2 separate regions of the Homo sapiens genome follow, and region 1 is linked to region 2. The links are contacts of gene promoters, found by promoter capture Hi-C in human tissues and cell types (Jung and others, 2019). All regions are on one chromosome and are shown on one strand. Each heading gives the region's core, a stretch centred on a gene start or on the middle of the fragment in contact. The rest is flanking DNA. Distances are from core to core; before and after follow the strand shown. Region 1 has its middle 21 kb from the start of CAMK1G. Region 2 holds the start of G0S2 (G0/G1 switch 2).

Region 1 (6,533 bases), core at 2,915-5,414, 110 kb before region 2:
ATCATTTGAGCTCAAGAATTCAAGACCCTCCTCGGCAACATGGGGAAACCCCATCTCTACAAACAATACAAAAATTAGCTGGGTGTGGTGGTGTGTGACTGTAGTCCCAGCTACTCAGGAGGCTGAGGTGGGAGGATTGCTTGAACCCGGGAGGTTGAGGCTGCAGTGAGCTGTGATCCTGTCACTGCACTCCAGCCTGGGCAACGGAGAAAGACCCTGTCTCAATAAAGAAAAAAGAAAAAGAAAAGATTATTTTTATATGTGGTTATTATTACACTAAGCATTTACTATGTACCAGACACAGAGCTGGAAACTTTACATAAACGATTTAATCAATTTCTAGAATAATCCTATGAGGTGGGAATTATCTCATTTTTCAGATAAGAATATAAATCTTGCAAGACTAAGCAGCTAGGAAGGGACAAAAACCTCATCATGATGCCAAAAGCCACATTTCGACCTCAAGCATTGTCATTCCCATTTAAAAATGAGGGTCTGAGAGTCCCAACAAGTTGCCACGATCACAATTGGTAAGACCCAAGTCAGTCTGAGTCATTCATTCCTTATTTTATTCCAGATAGGAAGGAATTAAGGCACTGCCTGATAACAACAAATAGTCATGTTTACCTAGAAGTCTCCAAGTACATTATTCGCCTTGCTTCTCTGCCAATGTTATAAAGTGGGCAGAATTGATTTTACTATGTTACTATCCCCCTTTTTTTTCTTTTTCTTTTTTTTCAAATGAAGGAACTGAAATACCCAGAACCTTTTCTGAAACTTGCATGGCCATCTTAGCATCCTTTCAGCTCCTGATAGGAGCAGTCTGACAGCTGTGAAAACCAAGCCTAGGCAGCTGATGCCACGAACACTGGGGCCCCTGAGCTCCCAGGGCTGGTACAGCTAAGCAAGGGAAAGGAGCCCCAACACACTGTCTTATGCTTTTTTGGCTATCACTGAAGGTGCGGGCTTCTAACTCACACTTCCCATCGTGTAGGGAAACTGTGTTCACAGCCTCTCTCCTGGTTTTGAGCAGGAGCTTTTGGGCCCTGGCCCAGGAGTGTTTAGGAAAGGCACATGCCTTTAGGGGTCTTGAGAAAATAATGTTAATGAGGAGGGGAGGTCGTGCGAAAAGAGAGGCCTATGGCCTATGGTTAATGAGTCGAGGCGCTTGTTTTGTTGCTTCATAAAGTCAGGGTCTTCATTGGACTTTGCATAAGGGCCTGTTTTTACTAATTATGTCCCAGGCAATGGCAAGGGGCAGTCATTTAAACATAATGTAACATGTGCAAAAATTCTAACAGTAATCTGATTACAAGAGAACCAGAGCTGTGGAGCAGCATGCTAACGTTGATAGAACGGGCAAGAGACAGACCCACGGGAGGCAGGCCCTCCCCAGCGAGGCTCTTCTGTGAACTGCCTGCAGGAGCTCCCCAAATTCCCCTGCCTATCCTATCCCACTCTTCCTGGGAATGGTGCGTTCCGAGAAAATATAAATGGTCTCATGTGTGTGCTTTTTTTTTTTTTTTTTTAGGATTAGAGAAGAAGTAGCTTTTGTTTTGTTGGGGTTTTGTTGTTGTTGTTGTTGTTTTCCCCCAGTTGACTAAACATGACATCCAACCTACAGGCTTGGAAAACAACTTGACTAGCAGTCTGAGCGATTAGACAGGACAACAGCCTGGGGTATTCTCTCGTGGACTAGGGGAAGCCCAGGCTGTCTTTTCTTCCGAAATTTGTGGCAATCATCAAAAAAGAGCAGCTGTCAAATTCGCCTTCTGCCCCAGTGGGGCCACCAGGCCACTGCAGTCTTTCTTTAATTGGTTTATTAATCTTATAATGCAATACCATCCTCTGTCTCATTGTTCCTCACTAGCTCACCAGGCCTGGACTTTGTAAATATGTTTAATTAAGCTCCCAAAGCCACAAGCCTTCTCTCTTCTTGGTTACACTCTCCCACCAGGCCGACACCAGCCAGAACTGAAACAAACAACTGGCTCCGTCCCCCTGTCCATCTGCTCCCACGTGGGGGTGGGGATGCAAGGGGAGGACATTCTGCAGGAAGAAATATCCCCCACCCTAGATGAGAGGTGCTGCCTTCCATGGCAGGAGGCCTGCTGTTCTGTGGGGAAACATGAACTAGGTGTTCCAGAGAGAGAGGAGAGAAAAGGACACCATTCAAACTTGTGGGTATAAATCTCTCTTTCTTCTAGACACCCACATGTGTTTGGGAAGGAAATCTCCCTGCTACAAAGGAGTGGCTCTTCTCTAATATGTTTTGAGCTCCCACCCTGGAAACACAGGGGGTGCAGGGAAGCTGGTGGGGGCATGGGACATGAAGTCAGGAAGAGAAGGTGAAAATATCCGGAGACAGGTCTGGGGAAGAATTGCACTTGAACATGTTCTACAACTGCTGTGTGCATGTCTGTCTTACCCAATAAACCCCGAGTCCTAGCAGACAAGGATCAGTATCTAGCACAGTGCAGGGTGTGTAGGGGACATATAAGTTTGGAAGGAGAGAAGGAGGGAAAAAGGGAGCAAGGGGAAAAGGGAGGGAGGGAAGGAATGAAGAAAAAGCAGGTGGGTGGGTGGATGGACAGATGGATGATGTGGTAGGGATTTGAACCAGGGACCACATTCACTGTTATACAGACCATGTGGCTTCAGGAAACCAAACAATGGGGTTCTTTGCATAGAAGAGTCTCTTCCTAGGAAGGTATTCAGAGAGTTTGGTCAGAGATGGCTTATATGAAGTCTGCATTGGATACCACCAAAATAATGCCAGGAGGAAGGAAAAAAACCCAATCTCTACCACTTGTTTTGAAGACAAGATGCTAAACAACTCACTGCTTGGGTTGCAGAGGTTTTTAAAATTTATTCATGTATTTGTTTTTACTGAATTGTGTGCACAGGGCACTCAGAATATACAAAACAGTAAACATTAAATCTACCATCCGGATATTTCTAAACATCTGGGCATTTGGCATCACATTGACCCCAACATGTTGTCATATGACCGTGGAGTTGGAGCCCAGAGCAGACACAGGCAGAGGAGGCAGCACATGGAGAGGGGTGTTTAGCTCACCCATCCCAGAATGCCTGTGGATGTCCATGTCTCAAATACTCTGATGTATTGTCAGGCTATGTCCAAATTTTTAATTTGGAAACTATAGTCACAATAGATACAGGGATAAAAGAAACAGTATGAGGGAGAGGGAGAAAAAAAGGAAGAAAAGACAGGGAAGGAAAGACAGCAAATGAGAAAGGGACCTGGCTGGGGCACTTCTTTGAGCAGTGGGGATGGAACAGTTAGAAAACGCGTGCCACACCGTATGGCATTCCCAAGGGGTGCTGTTTCCACAGCCACCGTCTAACACTGTCGTGGGCTGTTCTCATCCCAACCCCAAGGCTCAGATGGAAATAGCCCAAGCACTAGGTTCCCCTGGAGCTTACCTTACACCAGGTTTAGTAACACTGTCGTTTTCCTCACCTCAGTGGTGTGGGACAGAGAGGGAAGAGTGAGAATCTCCCCATTCTACAGACAGGGAAGCCAAGGCTCGGGAGGGAACAGAAGGTAGCCAGCGATGAGCTGAAAGGTGGAGGTAAATCTAAGCTCCTTGTTTCCAGGGTGACATCTGGATGTTTTTCCCTTTTTTTTTTTTTTTTGAGACAGAGTCTCCCTCTGTCGCCCAAGCTGGAGTGCAGTGGCACAATCTCAGCTCACTGCAGCCCCTACCTCCCAGGTTCAAGCAATTCTCCTGCCTCAGCCTCCCGAGTAGCTGGGACTACAGCATGCACCAGCACACCTGGCTAATTTTTATGTTTTTAGTAGAAATGGGGTTTCACCATGTTGGCCAGGCTGGTCTTGAACTCCTGACCTTAAGTGATCCACCAGCCTCAGCCCCGCAAAGTGCTGGGATTACAGGTGTAAGCCACCGCACATGACCATTTTCCTTTTCTAGAGGTAAGAGCTCAGAGAAGCCTTAATTGAAATAATTCCCCGCTACCCACATATAGATCAAAAGACAGGCAAGATGAGGCGAGACTGTTTGGAAGCCTGGAGAAGATTGGCACCACTTTAAACATGGCCCTCCACATACACACCTCCTCATACCCAAACATACACATGTTCATGCCACATGTCCTTAAGATTTATTTTGTTAAACCCATGAAGTGAAGACCATCCTCTCTACAGAGTCCCCCTGCCTGCCTGCCTGCCTGCCTAGAATCTCCCTGTGTTTTTATTTCCTGTACTGGGTGATTGATTACAGAAGAGCAAATTAGCTCCTACTGCTTTTAAGATGCATTTTCTTTCTTAAAGAGAAGATGATGTGAGCATTACTTCTCCCTGTCCACTGTGTGCCTTGGCTTTGGGCCTGTAGTCACTGCAGCTTTGGTAGGGCCTTCCTGGAAGGGAGGAGTACAGCAGCATCTGCTAGCCTGCAGCTAGGCCCACCCTGGGGGCCCAGTCCTGCACCCACTCTGCTTTCCCCAGGCTTCTCCTCCTGTCCCAGGAGACTCTCTGGTTACTCCAAACTATTTTCACCCTTCTCTCTGTACCAATACATGTGAATTCAGTTGCCTAGCAGAGTAGATGCTGTTGAATGAATGATGAAGTAAATGATGAATGAATTATAAAGACTAAAATCTCAACTTAATGAAATAAATGTGCTCTGGGCTCCAAAGCATGCTCCCCTGCCCACATCTCTGTCTCTCTCCTCTCTCTGTCTCTCTGTCCTCTCTCTCTCTCTCTCTCTCTCTCTCTCTCTCGTGGGTCTTGCTATTCAAAGTAGTTCCTGGACCAGCAACATCAGCAGTCACCTGGGAGCAAGGTTCCAAGGAGACCTATATACAAATTAAACCTCGAGAAGCACTGCTGTGTGGTCCTGAGTGGAGGCAGGCTGGTAGACAAAATGATCTCTCAAGGCCCCTCATTGCTTTACATGTCTCTCAACATGATCTCAGATAAAGACGGTTACGAGAAGACTTAGCCCAGGGTCACTGTACACCTACAGGGCCGGCCTGGAATGTGGAAGGTAGAATTTCAACTCTTTCCCTCCCGGTCTAGTCCTTCCTGCTGTAATGCTCCTTTGGAGGTCCCAGCTGACAGAGTCAGAGCACAGCATGGCTTTGCTCTAACTAATTGCCAACAGTTGGCTGAAGCTACATTTGTTATTCAAAAAGCCTCATTAATCTCCTAATGCCAGTGTAGCCATGGCTGCTAATGGTGCCTCTCATCTCCCCACACCCAGTTCCGGATGGGGCATCCTGGCTCCTGGCAGCAGAGCAGCAGGAAATGGCTTCCTTCTCAGAAGGCTAAGCTAGTATCTGGGGTCATGGAGCCGGGCTGATTTAGAACCTGGCTGAGTTCCACCTGTGGATGGAGTGGTACTAGGAGGCTGGACTCAAATCTGGGTCATCCTTGGGTCACAGAGCCTTGGAATGGTTCAGGTAGGTGGAAGAATGGATTATAGAATACCACAAGAAGGCTTATGTGAGACCTCTTGGATGAGCTGAGCTGAGCTGCCCCCTCACAGCCAAATCAAGAAATCCACTGCTTGTCTCTTGGGTATAGGGATGGGCTCTATCTCGCGAAACCCTGCAGCATGTTTGGACATGGAAGAGGTGCCTTCCAGAAAGCTCATGATGGGGAAGTCCTGAACAACTAGAGAGCCTTTGCCAAGGTTGAATCGAGGTTGAAACCTGCATGTATCCTATGGCCCAGAGAACATGATTTCAGTGCTTTCCTGTCTTCTTTCTCTAAGTTCTGCCTCTGTGGGTCTGTCTTTCCACGACTATAAACTCCGAAGGGACGGGATCTGCTGTGTCTTTCACACCTAACCCCTCACATCCCCAGTACTGGCCCTGCTGACTCATGAGCCATCCACCTGACTCACAGTCAGATATGGAGGTACAGGAGAGAGTATGAGGGGGACGGGAAGAAGGAGAAATAGCAGAGGAGAAAAAGGAGCAAGCAAAGAAGAGAGCTGGCAGAGCATACCTCTGGGCAGGGAGAATACGATGAGTATCAAGAATAAGACGCTCCGTGAAGACTCATGCCACTGCCCCCAGTGGCTATGGGTCTGGACCCAGATGGGTGCACCAACCGCAGCAGCAGGGCTGAGACAGGCGCAGCCTAGGAGGGCTCCATCCTCTTTTTACTTCCAAAATTTTATTATAACATTTTCCAGACAGAAAAATTGAAAGAATTTCACAGAAAATGCCCAATATAGATAGTGGGTATATAGGTGCCCATCTTTTTCGCTGTTTTTGTTTTTCCAAGGGACCAGATCCTCTGGCCTCGATCAATTCAATCCCATCAGTATTGCCCAAGCTTAGATGCGCGGGCAGCCTTCTCACCAGCCATTATTAAGGTATTTGTTAGAACAACACTGCCCCCTGCTGACTACAGGCTCTCACTTCTCTGGGACGGCTCTGCCTTGCAAAGGGCTAAGAGAGGGCTGGATCAGATTGTTCCTTCCCAGCCCTTTGCTTTGTCCCTCCCGTGTCTACCCTTAGCTTTGCCTCCACCCTCAACT
Region 2 (6,965 bases), core at 268-2,767:
AAAGGGTAGTTGTTATTGCTGCCTTTTTAAACTGAATCATCTGAGAAATTGCTTCAGACCCCCAAAGAAAGATTACTGTTAACAATTCAAAAACTAAAATATTTGATCCCTGAGACAGCCTTTTCCCCCGACCCGCCCTTCAGGGCTCAGTCCGACCGACTGCAAAGGCTGTTGCAAGATTGCATCACTGACCTTTGCAATTTTCTGGCCAGTTTGATTTCCCCTTCTTTCCCCTGCCCCCTCCCTTTCTCTGCTTAAAGGCCTTTGGCCAATTTGCCTCTCCTTTTCCCCAAGTTTGCTAACCCTTTGGCCAATTTGCCTCTCTTTTTCCCCAAGTTTGCTAACTCTAGCATATCCATAACCAAAGCCAAACTAGAACGCTCCCTCAGCCCCAGGTGATTACAGCTAACCCTGGTCAAAATCAATCCTACATCTTCACACGTCCAAGAGTACTCACACTCTGGATTCTTACCTAAGCTGTCTACTACACGCCCTTCTGCCCACAAACTGCTTCAAAGCTGAAGTTGAGCTGGAGCAGTGAAGTTGTACCCCCAAACCCAGGAGGGTGGCAGAGAATTATTGAGGAGAGCATGAAATACTTCCATTCTAAAATGGCAGATGAACTTCTACCAACAGCCCCTTCCATACTTGACCCCCTACCCCCAAGCTCCCAACTCCACTTCTCAAGTGGAAGTGAGAACAATTTGAATTTGAAGGCTCTTCCCTGATACACGGAAGTACATAAGGAAACAGCTCGCAGGCAAAGAGACTAATCTCTCTCTCTTTCTCTCTCTCTCTCTCTCTCTCTCTCTCTCTCACACACACACACACACACACACACACACCTCTGTGCATAAAAGCACCATCAATGAATAGTTTTCTATCAACTGACTCTAGTTATACATGCATGTACCTCTAAATAAAACCAACCAGGCAGGAAAGAAACAATATTAGCACATATTGCTTTATCCAAGCGTAACCTGTTCTGTCCTGTTACCCAGATCCTTCCCCCTTGCCTTCTCCTCTCTGATCCATTGCCACACACGTGGGAAGGTGACAACCCTTCCGAATAAAAATGAAAGCTTTCTTCTTTAGATGGAACCCCCAAATTCCCTCATTATTTATAATGTCAGGCTGTCCTGGACAAGGGAAGCTGTGCACCCGCTGACACCAGTAAGAAGGTTGCCGCCATGTCAGAGATGTCCGCGGACACCTCCCTGGGCTCCGGGTCCTCCCCTGCGCTCGCCTGGAGTGGGACCTTCGCGTGCACACTGGCCTTCCCACGCGCCCCGCTGCGATGGCACCCGCGCCGGGCCCCCTAGCTCACACAGTCGGAGCGTGCTCAGCGCGTGGCCACCTCCTGCCAGGTCCCAGCCGGGTTCCACCCCCTCCTTTTCCCCTCCTCTTCTTCCTCCCCCTCCGAGTTCCCCTGGCTCTGACCGCGCTGGCCTGGGCCGGAGAGCCCAGGAGGCGTGTCTCAGAGAAAAGATATAAGCGGCCCCCGGACGCTAAAGCGGTGCCAGCGGCGGAGTCTCCAACTGGGAGAGCTGCAGCTGCCGAGAGGAGGAGAACGCTGAGGTCGGTCGGACCAACGGACGCGCTGACCGCTGCCAACTGCAGCTCGCGCTGCCTCCTGCTCGCGCCGTGCCACTAAGGTAGTCCGCCTTTCTATGAGCCCTCCCCAAGATTAGCTGGGTGCGGGGTGGTGGGAGCCGTTCTTTGGTGGCTGAAGCCCCTCTCCTGCTGCTCCTCCTGCAGGTCATTCCCGCCTCCGAGAGCCCAGAGCCGAGATGGAAACGGTCCAGGAGCTGATCCCCCTGGCCAAGGAGATGATGGCCCAGAAGCGCAAGGGGAAGATGGTGAAGCTGTACGTGCTGGGCAGCGTGCTGGCCCTCTTCGGCGTGGTGCTCGGCCTGATGGAGACTGTGTGCAGCCCCTTCACGGCCGCCAGACGTCTGCGGGACCAGGAGGCAGCCGTGGCGGAGCTGCAGGCCGCCCTGGAGCGACAGGCTCTCCAGAAGCAAGCCCTGCAGGAGAAAGGCAAGCAGCAGGACACGGTCCTCGGCGGCCGGGCCCTGTCCAACCGGCAGCACGCCTCCTAGGAACTGTGGGAGACCAGCGGAGTGGGAGGGAGACGCAGTAGACAGAGACAGACCGAGAGAGGAATGGAGAGACAGAGGGGGCGCGCGCACAGGAGCCTGACTCCGCTGGGAGAGTGCAGGAGCACGTGCTGTTTTTTATTTGGACTTAACTTCAGAGAAACCGCTGACATCTAGAACTGACCTACCACAAGCATCCACCAAAGGAGTTTGGGATTGAGTTTTGCTGCTGTGCAGCACTGCATTGTCATGACATTTCCAACACTGTGTGAATTATCTAAATGCGTCTACCATTTTGCACTAGGGAGGAAGGATAAATGCTTTTTATGTTATTATTATTAATTATTACAATGACCACCATTTTGCATTTTGAAATAAAAAAACTTTTTATACCATATCTCATGTAATTCCTGAGAGGTGTGGTGTCCTGGGGTGGGAAGCAGGGAGGGTGAGCAGGTGGGCGATGGTGATGGGTTCTTACCTGAGCACTGCAGAGGGAGCAGCTTCCTGAGGGTCAGACACTTGCTTCACACCTAGGAACTGTGTAATAAGTTACTACATGCATATAAGTCTGTTGAGGACTTGTTTTTCCTTCTTGTTAGGGGTGGGAAGAGAGAAAATTTTATAACTTCCGTGAGATTTAGCATTTTAACATCAAAAGGTAGATCAACTTCTGAGCTACAGTGAGTAGGAGATAACTGATTAATTCTAAGGCAGAAAAGCTCTTTGTTCCTTACACCTGTGCACCAGAGGTTCCCATGGCTGATACCTTTTTCTTCCCAACTATATTTTAGACAGACAGACAGAGAGAAGGAAAGAAAATGAAGGAGGGAGGTCTGGAGGTGAAGGGAAGGAAAGAAAGGAAAAACTATCTACCTGGCAGGAAAAGAGATAAGCTCCCAAGAACACCAAAGCAGATGATGAGTCTAGCTCTACCCAGCCTTCCTCCCCACGAATCCAGATCATAGTAAGAAACTCTGGGCTAGAAAGAGAAAAAAACCGGTTGTTACATATCTGAGTCCTCCTCCTCCAGTGTACAGAGCTTCATCTGTAGTAATAGCTAATTCAGTGACTCTATAGGGCTCAGCAAAACAAATTTTAAACTTTAAAGAAGTAGCCAGGAGCCAGAGGCATGGCCTTGATGCTAGTCTCCTCACATTTTTCATGTCACCTGTCCTAATCAGGTACTGACACTTTACTCCTTTCATCAACAGCTATGCATTTTTGCCAAACATATCACTGGCTCACACCATTGCCTCTGCTCAGACTCTCTCCTTCGTCCAATGCCCTACACACATCTCCATTTCATTTCTGCCAACTCAATTCCTACCAAGTGTTCCTGGCCCTGATCAAAAGCCATCTCTTTCTGAAATCTATTCTTATCACTCCCAAAGGAAAAAAGCAATCAGAATGTGGTAAGATTAATCAAGGAAAAGAAACATATTTGGAGTTTTAAAGGAAAAGAATGTCAGTGGCACCATGGCTCTCCCAGTTTCCAAAATGGGAAATTCAGCCCTATACCAAGGCAGAGCCTCACTTTCAATGTCCAAGAAACTTCCTAGGAACTGACTCAATTTTATCCTTCCTGCTGGTCTTCCAAAATGCCTCTTTTATTAATTACTCCTTTACCCATTCAGTTACCACCTTGTCTGGCTCTCAACCGCTCAAGCCACCCCCTGCACCTTCTAGCACATTCACCCTAAACAATCCCTTGTCAGACTGTCTTCCTTTAATATCTTTCATTCTGCTGCTCCTGAACTCAAAAACATCTGAGACTAAAACTCTTATGCCAGGTTTCAGTGCCTCTGTGATGTGCTTCCATCACAGCTGGCCGTCTTGCCTGATTTGTCAGGGTGCCTAGCATGAACCCTGGTCCTTGCCTGTTTCCTTCTGGTTTTCTGCACCTTCATTTACATTACTCTTCCAACCCGAATTTCCAACCCGAATGTCCTCCCACCCACTACCTCCACATCTTCTGAAACCACATACCTCAAATTCTCCAAGGAAGGTATGATTTCAAATACAGGTATTTTGCCCATTGTCAAAATACATGTAAAATTGTGTGCTCTGATTTTTGAGATGGAGTCTTGCTCTGTCACCAGGCTGGAGTGCAGTGGCACAATCTTGGCTCACTGCAACCTCTGCCTCCTGGGTTCAAGCGATTCCACTGCCTCAGCCTCCCGAGTAGCTGGGACTACAGGCGTGTACCACCATGCCCAGCTAATTTTTTGTATTTTGGTAGAGATGGGGTTTCACCATGTTGGCCAGGATGGTCTCAATCTCCTGACCTCATGATCCGCCTGCCTCAGCCTCCCAAAGTACTGGGATTACATGATTTTTTATTTAGAGGGTAACGCCTATGTTTTGAAAGGTTGCCTATACATAAAAAAATAAAGTTCCCTAAATATATAAGTATGCCTATATGTTTTTGTGTAGAAGGAAATTCCCCATGCCTATTTATATTCAAATTACCCAACCCAATCAAATCCGAGCTATTGAAATCTCTGTTCTCACTGGTCTTCTCAATTCTCTGAGTTCTTATAGGCCGTACAGCCTGAATCTCATACCACATCACTCAGTAATGGGCTTTTTTTCTTCCAGTTGTTCTGTGGGCTTGGTCATGTCTCTTACAGTATAATCTTCTTGAAGTAAAGGACCATGTCTTCTTCAGTGTTCACAGAAATCATTAGGTCCTAGGCAAATAGTAGGTTCTTAATAAATACTTGATTGTTTAATCATTTATGAGGCTAGAGCAGTGATTGTAAATGAAAGGAGAAGCAATTTTGTCCCTCCAGAGAACATTTGACAGTCTAAAGACATTTCTGGTGTCTGGGTGAGGGGAGGGGGCAGGACTGCAAGCATCTAGAGGGTAGAAGTCAGTGGGCTGTTAAACATGTTCTAATGCACAGGACAGCCCCCAACACAAAGAATTCTCCATTCCAAAATGTCAATAGGGCAGAAGTTGAAAAATTCTGGGTTAGAGGAAAGTAAGGAAAAAGGATTTGCTTAATAATTTCAGAATCGAAGTTATGAGGTGGTCTCACAAGGCTCTGTCTGGTTACAATCAAACATGTTCCTCCCCCAACACAGGAACAAAAATTGTCTTTTTTCCTATGCTGCTTGGTAATTTTACCAACAACCTAGGAGAGGTAGCAGAAGGTATACTTATCAGTTCTGTTGGTGACACAGAGCTGAGACAGCACAGTCAGAACTCAAAACAACTCAATAGGCTGGAACCACGCATCGAAGAAAAACCAACTGAAACCGAATAGGGAAAAAGATACAGTACAGAATTCAGATCCAAAAAACCAATTGCACAACCACAGAATTTGAAAGACATATTCTAGCAGCAGATCATGTGAAAAAGATCTAGAGTTTTTTGAAATTTTTAATTGACTCATTATAATTGTACATATTTATGGAGTACAATTTGATGTTTCCATACATGAACACATTGTATAATGATCAAATCAAGGTATTTAGCATAGCCATTGCCTCATGCATTTATCATTTCCTTGTGGTGAGAACATTCAAAAGCTTCTCTTCTAGCTATTTTGTAATATACAATACCTTACTGTTAACCATGGTCACCCTACTGTGCAAAAGAACTCCAGAACTCTTCCTCCTAATTGAAACTTTGTACCCCTTGACCAGCCTCTCCTCATCCTCCCCTCCCCTATCTCCCCCCAAGTCTCTGTTAACCACACTGATCTACTCTATACTTCTATAAGATCAGTAAATATACACATATATATATATATTCCACATTTAAGTGAGATCATGTGCTATTGGCTATTCGTCTTTCTGTGTCTGGCTTATTTCACTTAACATAACATCCAGGTTCATCCATTTTGTCTCAGATGACAGGATATCATTGTTTTCCATCGTTGAATAGTATTCCATTGTATACATATACCACATGTTCTTTATCCTTTCATCCACTGCTGGCAACTTAGGTTGATTTCAAGTCTTGGCTATTGTAAACAGTGCTGCAACAAATATGGGAGTACAGATATCTCTATATACCCACCAGTGGGAATGCTGGATCTTATGGTGGTTTTACTTTTAATCTTTTAGGAACCTCCATGCTGTTTTCCATTCCATTAGGAGCTGTGCTAATTTACATTCCCACCAACAGGGTATAAGCATTCCCTTTTCTCTACATCCTCACCAACACTTGCTTTCTTTTGTCTTTTGGTAAGAGCTATTCTAACTATAGTGAAGTAGTATTTAATTGTGGTTTTGACTTGTATTTCCCTGGTGATCAGTGATGTTGAACATTTTTTTTTCATATGCCTGTTGGCCATTTTTATGTCTTCTTTTGAGAAATATTAAGGTATTTTGCCCATTTTTAAAATTAGGTTACTTGGGTTTCTTTTGCTGTTGGGTTGTTTGAGTTTCTTATACATTCTGGATATTAACCCTTCATCAGATATATAGTTTGCAAATATTTTCTCCCATTCTGCAGGTTGTCTCTTCACTGCTAATTGTTTCCTTTGCTGTGCACAAACTTTCCAGTTTGATGTAATCCCATTTGTCTATTTTTGCTTTGATTGCCTATGTTTCTGAGGTCTTATCTAAAACTTCTTTGCCTAGTCCAATGTCTCAAAATATTTCCCCATATCATCTTCTGGTAGTTTCATAGCTTCTGATTTTATGTTTAAATCTTTAATCCATTTTGAGTTGATTTTTATAGGTATGCGTGACGTAACAATGGGGCTACATTGTGAGAGATGCTTTACTAGGCGATTTTGTCATTTGCACAAACATCATGGAGTCTACTTAAAACATACCTAGATAGCATAGTCCACTACATACCTAGGCTATATGGTGTAGACTATTGCTCCTAGGCTATAAACCTGTATG

The links. The method cuts DNA at HindIII sites, captures the fragments that hold promoters and counts their contacts. A contact is called where the count stands out against the background at its distance.
Region 1: a contact is called between a fragment that was not itself captured here and the fragment with the promoter of G0S2 in region 2, in 3 of the 25 tissues and cell types used here (H1 embryonic stem cells, heart left ventricle and hippocampus).

Annotation. Positions count from the first base shown.
Region 1 is chr1:209,559,859-209,566,391 of GRCh38, forward strand. No RefSeq gene overlaps it. Among named protein-coding and RNA genes, the nearest start is that of CAMK1G, 21 kb to the right of the region's middle. The HindIII fragment of the contact is 8,724 bases long and covers 1-6,533 here.
Region 2 is chr1:209,673,895-209,680,859 of GRCh38, forward strand. It overlaps G0S2 (G0/G1 switch 2), which reads left to right and starts at 1,518. Exons shown (of 2, transcript NM_015714.4): 1 at 1,518-1,655; 2 at 1,759-2,496. The coding sequence starts at 1,791. The coding sequence ends at 2,102. All of the region lies in intron 1 of HSD11B1-AS1 (HSD11B1 antisense RNA 1), which reads right to left. RefSeq lists an enhancer at 1,630-2,478. The HindIII fragment of the contact is 8,087 bases long and covers 1-6,965 here.